Regions from separate parts of the Homo sapiens genome. Here region 1 is linked to region 2. Evidence: promoter capture Hi-C in human tissues and cell types (Jung and others, 2019). All regions are on one chromosome and are shown on one strand. The core of a region is centred on a gene start or on the middle of the fragment in contact, and the rest is flanking DNA. Distances in the headings are between cores, read along the strand shown.

The links. Contacts are between HindIII fragments. The study calls those that stand out against the background at their distance.
Region 1: a fragment that was not itself captured here is called in contact with the fragment with the promoter of ADAM23 in region 2 in 2 of the 25 tissues and cell types used here (dorsolateral prefrontal cortex and mesenchymal stem cells).

The regions. Positions count from the first base shown.
Region 1 is chr2:206,575,263-206,577,962 of GRCh38, reverse strand. All of the region lies in intron 18 of ADAM23 (ADAM metallopeptidase domain 23), which reads right to left. Among named protein-coding and RNA genes, the nearest start is that of FAM237A, 66 kb to the left of the region's middle. The HindIII fragment of the contact is 5,904 bases long and covers 1-2,700 here.
Region 2 is chr2:206,442,137-206,444,836 of GRCh38, reverse strand. ADAM23 (ADAM metallopeptidase domain 23) reads right to left here and starts at 1,305. Exons shown (of 26, transcript NM_003812.4): 1 at 757-1,305. The coding sequence starts at 970. RefSeq lists a silencer at 731-860. The HindIII fragment of the contact is 14,990 bases long and covers 1-2,700 here.

The DNA.
Region 1 (2,700 bases), core at 167-2,666, 130 kb before region 2:
CCAGTTAGAATGGCAATCATTAAAAAGTCAGGAAACAACAGGTGCTGGAGAGGATGTGGAGAAATAGGAACACTTTTACACTGTTGGTGGGACTGTAAACTAGTTCAACCATTGTGGAAGTCAGTGTGGTGATTCCTCAGGGATCTAGAACTAGAAATACCATTTGACCAAGCCATCCCATTACTGGGTATATACCCAAAGGACTATAAATCATGCTGCTATAAAGACACATGCACACGTATGTTTATTGTGGCACTATTCACAATAGCAAAGACTTGGAACCAACCCAAATGTCCAACAATGATAGACTGGATTAAGAAAATGTGGCACATATACACCATGGAATACTATGCAGCCATGAAAAATGATGAGTTCATGTCCTTTGTAGGGACATGGATGAAACTGGAAATCATCATTCTCAGTAAACTATCGCAAGAACAAAAAACCAAACACTGCATATTCTCACTCATAGGTGGGAACTGAACAATGAGATCACATGGACACAGGAAGGGGAACATCAGACTCTGGGGACTGTTGTGGGGTGGGGGGAGGGGGGAGGGATAGCATTGGGAGATATACCTAATGCTAGATGACGAGTTAGTGGGTGCAGCGCACCAGCATGGCACATGTATACATATGTAACTAACCTGCACAATGTGCACATGTACCCTAAAACTTAAAGTATAATAATAAAAGAAAAAAAAAAAAGAAAAAATGCCCTTATTCTAAATTGGCATAGCCACATGTGAGATTTCTAATCTATTTGGTTTTAGTTTAGGCTAATAAAAGACAGTTGCTTATCATGGGAATGTTTAACGAGGGAAATTAGGGAATGTACTATGTTCTCTGGGGACATTTAAAACAGGAAAACCATAAATCTGTGCACTTTATTCTGCTTATGAGTGGAGCATTGGATTCAGTCTCTAAATGTCATTCCAGAACCTTCCTTGTACATTATGCTATACAGGATGGTTCACTTGAGGCAGGCAGGCTTCAATAGTGCAATAGCATTTAGAAGTGTTTATTTTAAATTATGTTATACTACCCACTTAGATGACATATTTCATAGCACTAACAAAAAACATTTCTCCTATTTCTGCTATCTTTCAAATATCTGTATTACATCCACCAGTATTGTTTGTCAAGGATTTCTCTTAATTACGTAAGTATTGTTTATTCTATTATAAACCGTAAGTTTAATAAGTAGCTCTGAGGCATCAGTAAATGCTAATATAAAAATTAAGAAAAACACATTATGAGGTAAAAGAGATAAAGTCATAATGTTGCCTGTAAATACTGATTCTCAGAGTTGTAGAGATTCCATTTTCTTAATTATTAGTAGTATTAATTAAATTCAAAGCTCATTATTTCTTAAGGAGAAAAAGAAGAATTTTGGGGGGTTTTAACTCCCTCTACTTCTATTTTAGGTTCATCCTGATCATGCTAGAAAAATATTAGCAAAAATATTCTATTCTAATATGTACTGAGAAATTAATTTAACAGTATAATTTTCAGCTTAGACACATGCTATAAAAAGAAAAAATGTTTTACTTAGACAATAGAATATTAGGTTAAACAAAGAGTTCTCATCATAAAAATCTTATTTCTAGTAAATTCTATGGCACTTAAAGAGTTAAAGATTGAAATGAAAAAACTATACCTCTAAAAGGGCTGAATACACAGAAGTTTTTAAAACCATATATGGTAAACATAAAAACAGTAGTATTCTACAAAGCTAAAAATATAACTCTGAAACAGTGTATCAGTATTGTCAATACACGTCATTAAACACAGAACCTACAATTCTCATACTTTGTCATTATATTACAGAAAATTGCAAAAAAACCTATTTATATATTGAAATGTAAGAAACAGATATGCATAAAAATCATGAAAACACGGCCTGAACATATTTCACTGTACCATTTCTTTAAGAGGGTCCATCTGAATTGAATTTCAAATAATATATATCAACACCTTTACAAAAATGTTACTTAGGAACCCTTCTTTCTCTCTCCTCATTTTTTCTTCTGGTTAAGGAACTCAGTGTAACCCCAGCTCCCCTACTCCTTACTCACTTCCATCATTGGGAGGTGGAGTGACTGACCAATGATAAGCTTGGGAAGAAGAACTAGGCATTCCGCCACAGTTCTGCCATTCTTTTATAAGCAAGCCTACCCACATAAACCATGCATTTTCCATTGCTCCCCGTGCCATACATTGTCCTTCTGGACCCAATTTTGTCAGTAACCTGTTGCTATAGCCTGAACTGGGATCTTAAAGATAACTTTTAGCCCTCACATTAAGCTACAGCCTTCAACTTGGCCATTTTCAATAATAAAAGTGATATTTTGACTGCCAAGTGTACTCTATTGGGAGCCTCTTGGAAAGCACAATGCCTAGCAACAGGTAACCCCATTTTTAGGAGCTTGTCCTGAGGAGCTAACCCTGAACAAGAAACACTCTTTTAAAAATGCACAAAGATGTTCACTTCTATACTACTAATAATAAACTGCCAAAATCTAAATACCCATACTGGGTATAAATCAACTGATAAATCCACATGACAGACTCTCATACAATCGTGAAAAGAATTAACTATAAAAACTGTGTAACAGTATGGGGAAATGCTTTTAAAATAATGTCAGAATTAAAATGAAGGTAGAATGAAATCTAAAATTCTTTCCATGGCCTACATGT
Region 2 (2,700 bases), core at 56-2,555:
TTTATGGATACCGAATATTAATCGACTCTTTTAACAAAATGGACAATTCCCTTCTCTTTTAACTTTAAGATGAGCAAACATACTTTGCCATGTAGGGATACAGATGCTGGCAGCTTCCCAATTTCTTTTTATTTTCCTGACAAAGCCAGCTTTCTGCTTTCAGTGACTTCCAATCATCAATATATAGAAGATGGTATTATATTAATTGTTCATTATAATGACAAGCACTTTGAGAAATCAGAACCAAAGGTCGTGCATGAAGTATGTCTTCAGCACCTTAATTCTTTGGTCCCCGAAGTGTGCCTCCCCCACCTTAATTCCAACCGCACTGAATGCGCCGGATACGAAATTTGAGGAAACAGCCCATTACCACTATTATCACTACATCCTCCCCGCATTCACATTAAGGTTCCACCACGCAAGTAGCAACTTGCTCCCTCGCTGTATTTCCCATCCACTGGTTGCCCCTCCGCAAGTTGCACAGAGATCGCTGAGGGACCCAGGATCCACTAAACACCTCCCAGTGGAACCAACAAGAATTGGAATGGGTTTTTCGCGAATGCAACAGAAATGGACTTCCAAAAGTGAACTGGGATGAATGGGGGTTTGGGAACGAGAAGGGTGGAAAGACAGGCAGGGAGGGAAGGAAAGGCCGAGCCGGGGACAAGCCCGGAGCACACGGACCCGCGCGCCCTTCGCTTTCCTCTGCAGGGCCCCGCGGGAAAGCCAACGCAAAGGGCACGGGGCCATACCCACCGCTGGGCGCAGCAGCCCCCCAGGCGCGGGGCCGGGACGAGGCGGCGAGCGGAGGCAGCAGGAGAAGGACGAGAAGCAGGCGGCAGGGCGGCGTGCGGGCCGGGGCGCTGGCAGGCACCGAGCCGGCGGGGCCGCGTTGGGGGCCGCAGGAAGCGCCGGCAAGGCTGCAGCCCGCCAGGGGCGGCTGCCGCGAGCTGCTGCCGGGCGGCTTCATGGCTCATAGCTCCCGGGCGCCGCTCCGTGTGGCCGGCGAGAGCGCCGGGCTAGCTGCGGGGCGGCCGCGGGCGGAGCCGGTCACGCCGGCTCGGCGCGCATGGTGCCGCGGCGGGCAGGGGGCTCCGGGCTCGGGGCACGGGGCGCGGGGCTCGGGGCTGGGCGGCGCCCCCTTTCCCGGCTCGCCTAGCCTCGCAGCCACTCCCGGGGCGGGACGCAGAGGAGTCCAGGGGTCCTCGCCGCTCCGCCAACTTGGAGCCTCCCCAGCGGCTACTCCCTCCCCCGGCGGGCGCGGCCGCTTCAGCGACTGCGGGGGCTGCCGCCGGGCCTGAGGATGCTGAGGCGGCGCGCGGGAGCGAGCGGCGCGGGGACGCGCGGGAGCGAGCGGCGCGGGGACGCGCGGAGCGGGCGTGCGCCCCGCCCCCCGAGAGCGCGCCCGAGCGGGGCTTCGGGTGCTGATGCTGTTGCTGGATGCTGTGCTGCTGCTGTTGCCTGGCCCGGAACGCACTGCGCATGCTTTGTTGGGGGGCGGGGAAGGGGGTAAAGCAGCAGAGTGATGCAGCAGCCCAAGCAGCATCGGAGGTGACGGGTGGTACCTCAAAAGATGGGGGCGGTGGAGGGGGAGCCGGCAGTCACGGATAAGCCAGAAGAAAGAGAGTACGGGGGTTTCCAGGCCAGAGACAGGGATGATCGGGAGAAAACAACCAGCCGAAGTCCACCTGCCTTTTCCACCACCCCAGACTTCACATACCCTCTCCTATTCCAACCTCTTCCTGCTCTGGATAAACTAAGGCCACGCATCTCCTTCTTAATCCCTTATATATTTGCTTCCTGCATGTAAATATAAAGGATTGCAGCCGGGGAGGTAAAAATAGCGCGGCTCCTCATTCAGATTGCCAGCAGCGGGTGGGACTGCGGCTGAGAAGAGCGTTTGCGCCGCAGGCTGGCGCGGAGTGGCAGGAATCCCCCGCGCAGGGGCGCTCTGCCCCGGCCTGTGTCCTCCCTGCCGGTGCCTGGGGTCTTTGAGGAAAGCACAAGAAGCCGGACGGTGTTTGCTCAAAAGTTCAGAAAGTATGACTGGGCATATTCGGGAAGGACTTCGACATTCTGGCGGGGAAGCAATACAGAGATTAGAAACCAAGTGTGTGGCAGCTATCTTGGGAAATCCGTTGTTTGTCAACCACGGGGATGGGCACACATTTAGGAGGACACATTTCTATTTTTGAGATCCAGTCCTGACTTCTGCAGAGGAAAGGGGAAGTTTTCTCTCGTTGCTGTAAAAAATGTAAATCCCTGACTTCGGTGGGTTCGCAGCCACTAAATCTGATGGCTTCAGATAAGAGTCTGTGGCATATTTCTGCCCCCAAACTCTCATAATGCAAGCATTCATTTATTCACCCTCCCAATGACAATCTGAGTGATAACAATGTTGTCTTACTCCGACATCCACGGGGTGAGGGCTGGGGTGGAGAATTCCATGATTAAAAGAAAGAATGTGGGTATAAAAGTGCCATGGCCATGACAGAACTCAGTGTTAGCCATCATCTTCTCCACTCACACTTAACAAAGAGAAAAGAAGAAGACATATACGCGCGCGCACACACACATTACAAAACTGTTAGGTAAATACTGAGATAACTTCCTTTCTATGTTGAGCTAGGATATTATTATCACATATTTATTCCTGTAAATTTGTAATTGTTGCTACCTCCCCCATGTGAGGGCAACAAC